Linked DNA regions of Homo sapiens: region 2 is linked to region 1. Evidence: promoter capture Hi-C in human tissues and cell types (Jung and others, 2019). All regions are on one chromosome and are shown on one strand. Each heading gives the region's core, a stretch centred on a gene start or on the middle of the fragment in contact. The rest is flanking DNA. Distances are from core to core; before and after follow the strand shown. Region 1 holds the start of DSG4 (desmoglein 4). Region 2 overlaps DSC2 (desmocollin 2).

Region 1 (6,555 bases), core at 2,455-4,954:
GTTGTCACACACCCTGTAGTCAGAGCTGCTTTCCATGAGTGAGGAATTCCAACTGTGCTCCCACTTGGGGAAGGGAAGGAAACATTACTGCAGCTTAAACAACGGTTTCATTGCTCTATACGGAACTCCTTCCTGGATACTTAAGAACTAGAAAAGAGTCAGACTACGTACTCAGGATCCAGAAGCTCTGTCCCCAACAAAAAAAGTATCTTTCAAAAAGGAAAAGGGTCATAGAATCCCAAGGGCCATGAAATCTTTTTAGGGCAGGATTTTTATCCTACAAGTCAATAGGTAGATATTCTTGAGAAAACTATACTAAGTTATAGGTCATGGTAATACTAGATATCTCTTGGGATATAAAGCTTTTTTTATATGAGGTTCTCCCCATGGACTCTGCAGGAATTTGAAGGCAAAAAATATAAACTTATCCACTGATTTAAAATACATTTAGTAATTCCTTAGCCACTTATATCAACAAAACAATCATAGAGGTGAGATTTGCTTCGATGTAACCTTTGCGGTGATGAGTACATTCTTTCTGTAATAAGCAGTACTGAAACCAATCATTTAAAGCAATCTAGGGTATTCTGTTTAGTACAAATATCAAGCCAAATAGGATAAGGTGTTTTTCTCTCTGTCATATTTCTGGAAATCTGCCTGACAAGTAAATAGAAACAAATTTCTGTTCCATGTTTCAGAATAACATATTTGAGTGCATGTGAGAACTAAATTGATAAGTGGCTAAGTTAATTTTAAATATGTTTTCAAATTTTGATGCCTGCTCTCAACTTGCAATGAGATAACAGCTATATTTAGCCACCTACCTTTTTAACTTCCAAGAATTAGACTATTTAATGGAAGTGCTTACATCTTATATGTAGCATGAATGGTCATCACACATAGAGAAAAATTCTTATCTGATAAATGGTTGTCTTTTATGACCTTATCCACTTGATATAATATAGGCCTCTTCCAGCTAATAACTGTCCTGCCGTAAGTGATTCCTTCCTTATAAAATTTATACAATCCATAGAATTGCCTAAATCCTCAGATTCTCCAGCCAAATTTATGAAAACTATTTATGAGCCAGAAATGAACTTCTACTATGTAAGTATTCAGTGGAGATAATTTTAGAATTGCAGTTTCTACAGTGGAAGCAACTTAATAACATCATGTCTAACCATACATTCTCACATGAGGTCAAAGGAAGCCCTGAGAAGTTGGGTGCTTTTGCCAAAGTTACACAGCCACTTTGAAGAGGAGCTGTAATTCAAACCCGGGACTTCTGAATCTCGATTCACTGTTGAATGTCCCTCACCACCCCTGTCTGTTTTATAGAAGAACATGATAAGCATCCTTAGGAAGAAAATGCCAAATGACTCGTGATAAAATCAGTGCCCTATTGTAATCTAGAGTTTTGAGTACCTTTTGCTGGTTAGCCAGTCAGAACTTTGTTTACAGTGCTCTTTGCGGTTGAGATGTAGCTGACACAAAGTACCTGTGAGTCTCTGAGAGGCTGCCACACCCTCATTAGTGTAAGCTGCAATGATGCCCCAGAGAGTCTTTGATTTAGTTAATGAAGAAGGGGCAGAGTTCAAGTTCAGGAAATTAAAGAGAAGTAGGCATGTCTACTTTCCTATAATATCTATAACATCTCATTGATTCTCCTTAAACAATTCTTGTATTTGTTTCAATTTTGAAATATGCCAGAAGTCTCTACCTCCCAATTCCAGACACTATTAATTGATATGGTAAGGGATCTTTTAGACAAGCATAAAGAAAAAAAATACTTAAAGAACTTTTTCACAATTACCGTGAAATGTCAAACACAAAGACTTCAATATCAATGAGGAGTAGGAGGAATTAAGTATTAAAAACGCTAGTATTACCAAGGAAAATAAATAAATACTACCAAAAAAAGATCCTGAGAGTCTGAAGTATAATACTCTTTCAAGATCAAGGAGAAGAATCAACTCTTCAATTAAATAATATTATCATAAATCATGCCTGTGCAGAAGGCAATGGGAGGCAAGATTTAGTGCTCAGAAGTGGCCTCTAAAATCTTGACACATACAATTTTCCTTACAGAAAACCAAAAGTTTATCTGAGTCAAAGCATGAATATACTCGGTAGAAGAGTAACAAGAGGTATATCCTCATAACTTACTATTTCAATTGAAGACCAAGTCCGATTCTTGCCTCTTCTTTTAGTAACATTTATTTTATTTAGTAAATAAATAATGATCATTGTAACAGAATATTGCCCTTCGTCTTATGTTTTTAAGTTTAAAAATATTTTTCAAAAATGGTATTGTTTAATAATCTGTCTCCTAAACTCAGAGGATGCAATATTCTACCACTGTTGTCACGTTCCCTTTTGAGCTTGGGGTTGTGTGCCCTTTGGCAGTGTTCGGCTCCCGCACTGCTCTTGAAGTTTAGAAATGTGAATTCCAGAAGAGTAGCTCTCACTGTGCCTCTTGGACAATGACGTGCTCCCATCTCTCCCAGCCCTAGCTACTCTCTGTCTCTTACAACTGATGTTCAGAGGAGTCTGGTATAATTGCCACTTGCCTAAGAATAGGATGGGAATCACTTTCTAAGCTTAGGTTGTAGCGCTAACCTGGATACTCCTGGGAGATTGAAGTGTGGCCAACTATAATGCATTTGTCTTAATTTACTTTGAAAAATTTGTACAGTTCCTAATAATCCTGTCCTCTTACCCTCCCAGAATTGGCAATAGTTTGTTGATTGGCCAACTGGAACTTTGTTCTTCTTTGGAGTTGGAATTATCTCTTTCTAGGGTAGGATATTTGCTATGCATGCTGCCTGTCTGGAAATCATGTCACACCTTGGGCACCCAAAGGTTAGAGGAAAGAAATATAATATCCAAGATGCCATGTTTACTGTAAAGAAATAAGTCATTTAAATATTTCTTTGCTGGTCTGTAGGAATGCATTCATAATTCCAGAAAAGTTTTGTCTTGATGGCTGGGCTTCATTTTTCTTTAGCAATATCTGACTGGAAAAAGTTCTCATGACTTTAGTATGTCATCATTAGTTGCAATGTAATTTCAACATGGCTATCATTCCTCCACTTTGAAAGAAACTCATAGGGAAATAACTATTGAAAAGAAATGGGTTTGATTAACTTCCCTTCAAATTTAGAACCCATTTGCACTGGCAGTTTTCACAGCAATCTATCTGATTTATTTATATGATCATAGAATATGAATTTTATTTCCAATTTAAAATTTTAGAATAGTCCTAACACTCAAAGTGAAGTAGATTATGTCTCTGAGGGCATATAAATTTAATTCAGCCAGATTCTCACCCCGCTTCTCTATGGCATTTTGTTCCTCAAGGCGGAGAGAGTTGTTTGAAATTAACAGAGGCTGGACTTCTAGAACTCTCTTTGCAGGAAGGAGATTAAAAATGGAATAAATCCCATGTAGAAAGCCCGACAGTTGACAGAGACAAGACCTTGAGGCTGCATTTCCTTCCCACCTCTTTAAATTCTACTTACCATTAGAATGATCAAAAGGCAAATGTTTCTGAAGAAGAGCCAATCCATTCCTTTGGGTTTCTCTTGCACGCAAATCCTGTGAGATTCAATTTGAGCCCTCGTCTTCTCAGTTCCGAATTCTGCTCTACAGAAAGATATGCTTTGAGACACCCTTTTAGGAGGGCATGGGTGATAACTGTGGTGATCTCTGGGCAGAGAGATGAAGATATTCTATAATGACTGTTTCCCCACCCCAAACTCCCAGGCTGGTCTGGAAGACTGGCATTGTTTGGGCTCTGGGTAAGAATTTAGACACACCTTGATTCTTATTGCAATGAAACCCTTTGTTGGACACCAAAGAAAAACCTTACAGAGCGAGGACAAGATTTACAGGGAAGATAGCCAGTGAATAATAAATTACTCACAACATAAAAAATAATTAAAATGCTAGGGCCTATCATCATGCTGAATAAAATTAGAAGGCTTCTTCTTACTGCCAACATTGTAAAAGCAAAATTACATATACTGACAACACATACACACACATGTCCACTGCAGAACCCACTTCAAGGAATGATACTTTTAGCAGAGGCCATTGTTGAAAGTCATCAGGACTCAAGTATGGTATAGGAAGAAAGATAGAATAATGACGCTCATTTCAATTCAGTTGAGTCCTGCTTCTCTCTTTAAAATGTCTTGTGGTTGAACCGCACTCTCAATTTTAAAGATTTTCTGAAATAACAAAGTTAAGATGAAGGAACTCTGATTTAACTAGTACCAGTATGTTTGTTTCCATACTTTGGCATTTTCTTTCTTGATTATTCAGTCAAACCTCTACAATATGATATTTACAAAATCATTTTAAAGTAACTACAATACAACATTCTCACTTCTCATAGTATTACCACTGATAAAAAGTACATAATGTGGGTGAGGAACACATTTTACACCACCACAAATATTTATTAAGGAGAAACTGAAGTTGGAAACGTGAGAATTTAATGAAAAAAAGCCCAGAGTGGGATCTGGATATTTTTGAATATTATTTCCCTTTTTCGTGTCTCCCTTTTCCTTTGTTAGTATGGGTTTGAAACAGGGTATAGAGTGTCCTGATGCAAACATTGCAGGCTGGCAGCAACATCAATAAACTTAAAAGAAAATGCAGTTAACTGTTCTCTGATTGATAGATAATACATGTTGGTTGGAGAATTTCAAAGGGAGACTGCCTCCTGTCTTCACTATCCCATCACTGTAATTCAGAAACAAGGTTGACCCTGGTAATAGAATGTATTCTAAGTATTGCTTAGTTTCTTGAGAAAAGTAGTTTTAGTATTTTTGGAAGCCAGATAAAGTAATTTACTTTTGCATTATTTCATGTCATGTTGAATTAGATAATTTAATTTGCCTAAGAGAATTAATGAAACAACTCCAGGTCTTTAAGTGACATTGCTTTTTACAAGGGAAAAACAACATTCTTCTCTATTGTTGTGTTTGAAGGAGATATTTCACAAAGGTCTCTATCTTTTGTTTACACTATAGATGATTTCTTCTACATATAAGATTTTTCTTATATTTTCTTCTAAATATAAGATTTTCTATCTACTTGAATGCTATTTATAGGATGAGTTTTAAAGAAAAGAAACAGGAAGCAATAGAAATAGGTACTAGATCATTTATGTGGGTACCTCTAGCTTTCTCCATTTGAAACTCCTGATTTCAATGGTATCCAGAATTTGAATCCAGATTATAATTATGAACATATTTAAAAGATTCTTCAGTAACTAAGGAGGAACTACCTGAAGCCCCATCATTTCATTTCTGTTTACTCCTTGGAGATTTGTGGGAATGATCTTTTGCTTTAAAGTTTTTTTTGGAGACAGAGTCTTGCTCTGCTTCTCAGGCTGGAGTGCAGTAGTGGTCTGAGTGCAGCTCACGGCAACCTCTGCCTCCTGAGTTCAAGTGATCCTCCCACCTCAGCCTCTCAAGTACTTGGGTTTACAGGTGCATGTCACCACACTTGGTTAATTTTAAAAATATTTTGTAGAGACAAGGTCCTGCTATATTGTCCAGGCTGGTCTCAAACTCGTGGGCTTAAGTGATCCTCCTGCCTTGGTCTCCTAAAGTACTGAGATTACAGGTGTGAGCTACTGTTTCCCACAGGGGATGGATGATTTTACAGTGGAATTCCCAAAGACAAAACTTGGTTATGGTTCTGAGCTTGTGTAGATAAAGAGTAGCTACTTCCGTTTCTCTTGAAGAGTATCAGTCATTGTAGAAACAGAGCATAAAACATTAATGCTTAAAGATACCACAGAGATCATATAATCCAATCTCTCCTATCTTGCCTCTCTCCTACCCATGTGATAGTGATAGTCTAGGGAGGCTGTATGGTTTATTAGGGTCAAAGATAGGCAAGAGTTCCATCTCCTCATTCATAGTCAGTTTATATAAATACCAAGCCACTTTTCATTATTAGCTACGTATGTGAAGGCAAAATAGTGGATGGTTAAACACTATTAGCTTTAAAAGACTTTCCCATACTTTAGAGTTTACTGAACTGTTGGTTCTATGAGCAGAATTTTTAGCAAGTTTTTTATAGTATTTATTTTTGATGTCAAACCAGTGACATTTCATTTGCTCAGATGAAACCATACATTGGCTTTTAGGGATGCTACTGATATTTAATTATTGTACTTATGCTTCTATAATATTGTATAAAGTAGCAAGACACCTTTATTCTCCACATCACATCTGTGTAGAACACAGTGAGAGCTTTAACACCTGTACTTTTCAAATCAATGCCACAAAAGGCAAGGAATTCAATACATGCCAATACAAGTCCTCTTTGAAAAACAGAAATGTAATTTATACAGACAAAGATATTGTGGAAATGACATTAGGGCAAACTTTTCCATCAAATTATTCTAGTCTAGGGTTACTACTGGATATTATTCAAATATCCAAGGACAATTCTATTTCTTGAAAGCAAGAGTTAGGGGGAAGGAAATTTAAAAAATAATTATGGTCCTAAAGTATGGTGGTCAAATGCAGCACA
Region 2 (6,771 bases), core at 433-2,932, 290 kb after region 1:
GCAGTGTTGATGATTAGTTTGGTTTTCAAGCACTCCCATGGTCTCACCCCTACCCAGCTAATCCTCCTGAGAGGAGAAAGATGTGTCATTGTTTAATGTTTGAGAATAAAGTAGTCATTGACTTTATTATTTTTTCCTGTCTTATGAATTGAGGTCCTAAAGAAAAGACATACTAAAGAAAAAGTTCTAAGGCGCGCCAAGAGAAGATGGGCTCCAATTCCTTGTTCGATGCTAGAAAACTCCTTGGGTCCTTTTCCACTTTTCCTTCAACAGGTACCGTTTTCTTTCTTTCTGCTGTGGGAGTCTATAGTTTCCATCTCTTACCATTATGACACTGAGTATGAAGTTATTTGTAATAGTTGTGTATAAATATGTGAGTGAATGAGTATGTGTATAATATGTTTCCATATAAGGGTATAAATATATCTCTTTATACTTGCATACACTTTTGTTCAGCTTGCAAAGGCCAAGCATAAAACTGTGGCACTCAGACACATGGTTCCTTAATGAATTGTCACATCAGCAAGGGTATCGCCAAGCCTAAGAATAGCTAGAAAACCCAAAACTCTCTTGCATAATAAAGGAGAAAATTGGATGAAAGACCAAATGCCACGAAGGAGGAAGACACATAGGCCCTTCTATCTTTCTATTTCTTGTTCTTGAATCTACATCTGAAATCACACTGGATCCACATTTCTTTCTCTCTCTCTCTGTCTCTGTCTCTTTTTGTTTCTTTTTTTTTGTAGCGATGAGATCTCACTATGTTGCTTAGGCTGGTTTTGAACTCCTAGGCTGAAATGATCTCCCATCTCAACCTCCCAAAATGCTGGGATTACAGGCATGAGCCAAGCATACCTGGCTCTTTTTCTCTGTCTTGTTTTAACTTTCAGTAGAAACCCCAGCAAGCCTTCTTGCCTTCTTCCATTACTGGTGGCTACTACATTCAGTCTATGACTTTGGTTTATTTTCCCTCAGTTCTTGACATAGCAAGGGAGAATCCTTTTTATACCCCACCAACAAATTTAATACAGCTGAGAGAAGAGCATATTAAAGTTGAGAAATTGTTAGAAAACAGTTGTGTCAGTTATCCTGATATAAAGATAGGATGTTACTGAGAGGATGAACACAGCTTGGAGGAAATTTGCTTTTCGAATCAAGGATCAGAATATTACACATTCCAAAATATTATTCCATTTCTATTCTCACTCATATTTTTTTTTTTACTCAGTTCCTATAAGGAAGATGTTGGCAAAGAACAAAAAACTCATTAAGGAAATTATTGTCCACATTTTTGCCCTGCAGACAGTACACTTTAAACTCGGTTCTTAAATGTTATGTTACATATAATAAAAACTCAGTTTTTTAAAACATTGACGACAGAATAATTTTCCATGCTCAGAATACTTTGTTTTCTAAGACAGGAAGAGTCTTAAGTGTTTTTTCCATGTATAGACACCATCTAGCCTGTCAAATATTCCTTTAGTTATTCTGGAGAACTAAGATGCACTACATTATTTTACTCATGCCTTGCTCTTGAAATTTCTCAATTGGACTTTCTTATTCTATTGCTGTTTTAATTTATATATAATAATAAATTAAGGGCAATTATTTAAACTAATAAAATGGCAATGAGATTTCATAAATATATAGATGAAAGCTCTGCTGAAATAAAGATTTGTCTCATGTATATAATATCTACTTTCTAGGTTCAATCTGACACGGCCCAAAACTATACCATATACTATTCCATAAGAGGTCCTGGAGTTGACCAAGAACCTCGGAATTTATTTTATGTGGAGAGAGACACTGGAAACTTGTATTGTACTCGTCCTGTAGATCGTGAGCAGTATGAATCTTTTGAGGTAAAGTCTAAAATGTGTGTACTGTATTAGCAATGATGATGCTTGGCCATTTTGTCTCTCATTTGCAATTCACGTAACCTTTTCTGCTTTCTGAGTTTGTCACCAATGCTCTGGCTACTCCCTAATAGCACATAATTGACTTGAAACAAAAAATATTTTCATAGAATAAATAATATTGGATTCCATTAGATTGTTCCTGGTATTATGGTTTTACTATTTTTTTTTCCCCCACAACAGTACCACTTTGAAGAACAGTTTTTTTTTTTTTTTTTTTGAGACAGCATCTCACTTTGCCACCCAGGCTGAAGTGCAGTGGCGTAATCTCGGCTCACTGCAATCTCTGGCTCCGGGGTTCAAGTGATCCTCCCACCTTAGCCTCCTGAGTAGCTGGGATCACAGGCACGCACCATGATACCCAGCTAATTTTTTGTATTTTTAGTAGAGATGGGGTTTCACCATGTTGGCCAGGCTGGTCTCAAGCTCTTGACCTCAGGTGATCTGCCCATGTCGGCCTCCCAAAGTGCTGGGATTACAGGACTGAGCCACCGTGCCCGGCCAAGAACAGTTACTTAGTTGGCACAAAAAGATCTGTGAACCTCTTTATAGTATGGAGATATCATAGGAGGTAAATGAAGTTCAGTCATTAAGTAAACCTCAGTACCCTGGCAATGGGAGAGCATTAGTTTATGGGGAGCAGGTAGGGGGTGTGACAGTGCTTACCTAAGCTTACTCAGTCCTTTAATCATCTGGTTAATTTCCTATGCTGGAAAGTGAGTTAATATGAAAGAATTTAACCTAATGCTGGTTTGATTTCCCAACAGGACTTGGTCATTTTGCTTAAGTCAGTTTTAATTATTTTATGTCTATTTTGGATGAATTAATTATTCATTAGAAGACCAAATTAATCAAATAAGACAGGCAAGCTTTGAATAAAGTATTTAGGTTTAGAATTGCCATGGCCTGGCCTTCTGAGTACCTAGGATGTTCTGGCCTTTCTATGATAGCTGTTATGAGAAAATTGGTATTGAAATTCATATTATAAAAACAAAAAAATTAAACTGTATTCCACCACAGTTTACCACCATTCATTTGTTTCATTTCTGATTCACCCTTTTTAAATTAAAAATTCTTTGAAAAGACTTACCCAAATGTAACCATTGATATGCCTAAAGTCCTCATTAGTAGAAAATAGGATAATATCCCAGTTAACTGTACCTGGGTAATCCTACAGGATCCCAAGTTCAGAAAGATCCAGAAAGTTGTATTTAAAATCCATGCACCTGAACCTTTCAAACAAAGCAAAATAAAGAAGTCTTCAAGGCTGTTTGGGAAAATAACAGTAAAAATTGTTACACTCATGAATAACAGTATAGCAATAATGAAGAAACTAAAATTATCTTTCATAAATTTAAAGAGATAAATTTAAACATACAATGCCATATTGAATCATGAAATTAGGCACCTCTTTGGCATTAAAATTATATCCATATCCCAGAACAATAACAAATGGTGAGACTCATACTGTAGTTCTGAACAGTCTCCAAGTTAAAGCCAAAATGAATTTGAAGCATACCTCATTTTAAAAGATTATTTTCACTTTTCTCCTTATTTTACTCTCTTCACAGATAATTGCCTTTGCAACAACTCCAGATGGGTATACTCCAGAACTTCCACTGCCCCTAATAATCAAAATAGAGGATGAAAATGATAACTACCCAATTTTTACAGAAGAAACTTATACTTTTACAATTTTTGAAAATTGCAGAGTGGGTGAGTACCTCCTTAAACAATATATGGCAAATTAACTGTGTTTCAATTCATACATTTAGTTTCACTATGTCCGTTGAGAAGCAGCGTATCCCAGCAGCAAGAATAAGGGACTCTGGGTGGAATTTTACTCTGTGTTTCACTAGCTGTGTGATGCTTGGCAAATTTCCTAATCTTGGCAAGCCTAATTTCTTCATCTGTAAAATGGGTTATCAGTATGCCAGATTGTTATGAAGATGAAGTGAAGCTCAATACACAGCGAATGCCAAGCACAGTGCCTGACAAATAGGAGTTAATAAATGTTATGCTGTCATCCTATGGATGGATGGATGTAAGAGAACATAGCCCAAAAAGAATAAGTCTTTCACTAATTGGAGATGTAGTCTTAAAGATATGTACGGATGTTCTCTAGGATTAAATGTGATTGCCAGTATTCTGGGCACGATTATGAAAGTCACTGAGAATAATACAAACATTTTCTCAGCCCTGTGAAAATGGTCTGTTTTAACTAAAAGTCAGAATGCAGTTTTGGAGACCTTGTCTAGAAATGTCTAAGTGAACCATGCAGTTTTAGAGAAAACTGACTCCTATGATCAATCTAAGCACAAGCTTACAAACAGAGAAAAGTTATAGAATAATCAGAATTGTTTAGTCTGAAAATACATGGAGGGATAGTATCAACATTTATAAAATCATACATTAAATACAATAAATATGAATATGATCACCCAATTCGAAAATGCTAGTATGCCAGAATATTTGAAAGGAAGTGATACTGTATGGAGAGGTCTGCAAATTTATAAAAGCCATGACTTTGCCATGTAATAATGTGGTCCAGAACTTTTTTGAGGTGGGTGAAAAGGAATGAAATAAAGGGAACATAGAACATGTGAATGTTTTGGAGATTAAAAAGGACTTTTCTTCTCTAGGCACTACTGTGGGACAAGTGTGTGCTACTGACAAAGATGAGCCTGACACGATGCACACACGCCTGAAGTACTCCATCATTGGGCAGGTGCCACCATCACCCACCCTATTTTCTATGCATCCAACTACAGGCGTGATCACCACAACATCATCTCAGCTAGACAGAGAGGTAACATAAACATTAATAAAACCTGATTATAACGTGGCTATTCAATAGTACCTGTATAACTCCTGTAGATGTGTTTTTGAAAAGTATGTTGTGAATCTCATTTTAGAAACATTATTATTTTATGTATGTTAATAGAGATCACTAAATAACCTTGGAGTATGCTGGTTTTGAACTGCTAATTCATTCTTTTCTGAATTGTTTGTTTCATACAATCAGATTTCCTGATATAAACATATTTACAGTATTAAAACAAAATGTCAAATATGAAAAGTGAACCTTTTAAATATATGCAGAAATTTGTTATCTTTTCAACAATCTCATCTACATTCTACCTCTTACATAGATGAAAAGACAGTTTATGTCTCTCTAATCTCTGGTTTCCCATTTTTAATCAACTGCTAGAAATCTTGATTTGGATGTCTGACAGGTACTTATGATGTAATAAATCTAAAATTTAACTTGTCTTCTTTTCTTCTAAACATATTTTCCATTCTATGTTTTCTAGTTAAAAAGATATTTATATATTCTTTCTCTATTAATCATTTTCTATTGTCACCTTGGAGTCATGGTCTCCAAATTGTATTTGATGTCTCTTGGCCCCCCTGAATCACATCACTTCCTAAAGCATGTTTTTACCTCCAAGATTGTTTTAAATCTATATTCTGTCTCTTTCTACTGCAATACCCTAGCTTAGTAATTCATTCACTTAGTTATTCAACTATTACCTCCTCCCTGAAGCATTATTCATCTAAATTCTTATAGCAGTTTCTGTGTCCTTATTTACTATATTTATAATCCTTAATCTTAAAATATAGTAATAGATGTTTATCAGGTATTTTATTTGATTCTTAAGTCTTAAATCTTCAGATTAATTTTCTCTTCCTTCCTCTATCCCTCATGGATTAGGGTAGAGGTTCTCAAAAGCTTTGGTCTCAAGACCAATGCTTGACATTATTACATATTGTTAAATATTGTTGAATACTGTTAACAGTGTTAAATATTGTTGAAAATCCCAAAGATCTTTTATTTATCTAGGTTATATTTATCTATGTTACTTGTTAATGTTTAAAACTAAGGAAAGTTTAAATTATATATTAATTTAAATATTAAAAATAATAAATTAATTACATGTTAACAGTTAAAATTCTTATAAAATAACAGTAAAAATTGTTACACTTTTTCTTCTTTTTGTACTTACAAAATAAGTACATTTTCCAAAACAGTACAATTTAGTGGGAAGAATGACATTGTTATGCATTTTTCCAAATGTTTTTAGTATTTTGCTTAAGACAGGTGGATTCTCATATCTCCTTCTGCATTTAGTCTGTTACAATATGTAGTTTTAGCTGAAGCATATATAAAGGCAATCTGACATGATATAAAATTAGAAAAGAGAGTAGTATTTTGATGATAATTACAGATCACTGTGGATATTATTCCTTGATACTACATGAATACTTGATAAGGAGTAGCTTGTTTCCTAAATGTTTTTGGTAATGTGGACTCTGAATCCTCAACAATGACCTTTTGTACTTTATTACGTTAAAATCCATTGCTCTATCTTACACTTTGAGTGACCATTTTACCAGTACATCATTCTATATTGTGCATTGGTCATTTGGAAAATATTGGTTCACCAAGTAATGCAGAGCTTCCAAATATTGACACATTGCATTAAATAATATCAAAAAGATCACCTCTTTACTTCCATTGATATCACATTGGTTGATAAAGGTTTTCCAAGCTTCTCATTTTTGTTTGAAATCTCCAATTTATCATTGGCAACAAATAGTTGTTTTCCCTGAAGTGACAGATTAACTTTATGTTTTACAAAATACTTTCATAAAACTATAGTCTGCATAGCCATAGATGTCTATGTGAAAATAGCATTCTATGGAAAAAAAAAAAAAGCAAAAACTCAACAGCTTGTTCAGCTCCTAAATCAAACAATCACAGAAGTGCTTTTCTTTGAATAGATTCTTCTGAAATAATCAGTTGAAAACACTTGTCCAGTGAAGGTGTTTATCCAGTGGTGCTCTCTAGTAA

Evidence for each region. The method cuts DNA at HindIII sites, captures the fragments that hold promoters and counts their contacts. A contact is called where the count stands out against the background at its distance.
Region 2: a fragment that was not itself captured here is called in contact with the fragment with the promoter of DSG4 in region 1 in 4 of the 25 tissues and cell types used here (H1 embryonic stem cells, heart left ventricle, mesendoderm cells and 1 more).

The regions. Positions count from the first base shown.
Region 1 is chr18:31,373,926-31,380,480 of GRCh38, reverse strand. DSG4 (desmoglein 4) reads right to left here and starts at 3,704. Exons shown (of 16, transcript NM_177986.5): 1 at 3,522-3,704. The coding sequence starts at 3,569. The region is part of intron 1 of DSG1-AS1 (DSG1 antisense RNA 1); the gene reads left to right. The HindIII fragment of the contact is 6,705 bases long and covers 1,482-6,555 here.
Region 2 is chr18:31,084,530-31,091,300 of GRCh38, reverse strand. DSC2 (desmocollin 2) reads left to right here. Exons shown (of 16, transcript NM_024422.6): 4 at 154-273; 5 at 1,707-1,862; 6 at 3,488-3,632; 7 at 4,559-4,725. Among named protein-coding and RNA genes, the nearest start is that of DSCAS, 14 kb to the left of the region's middle. The HindIII fragment of the contact is 6,527 bases long and covers 1-4,945 here.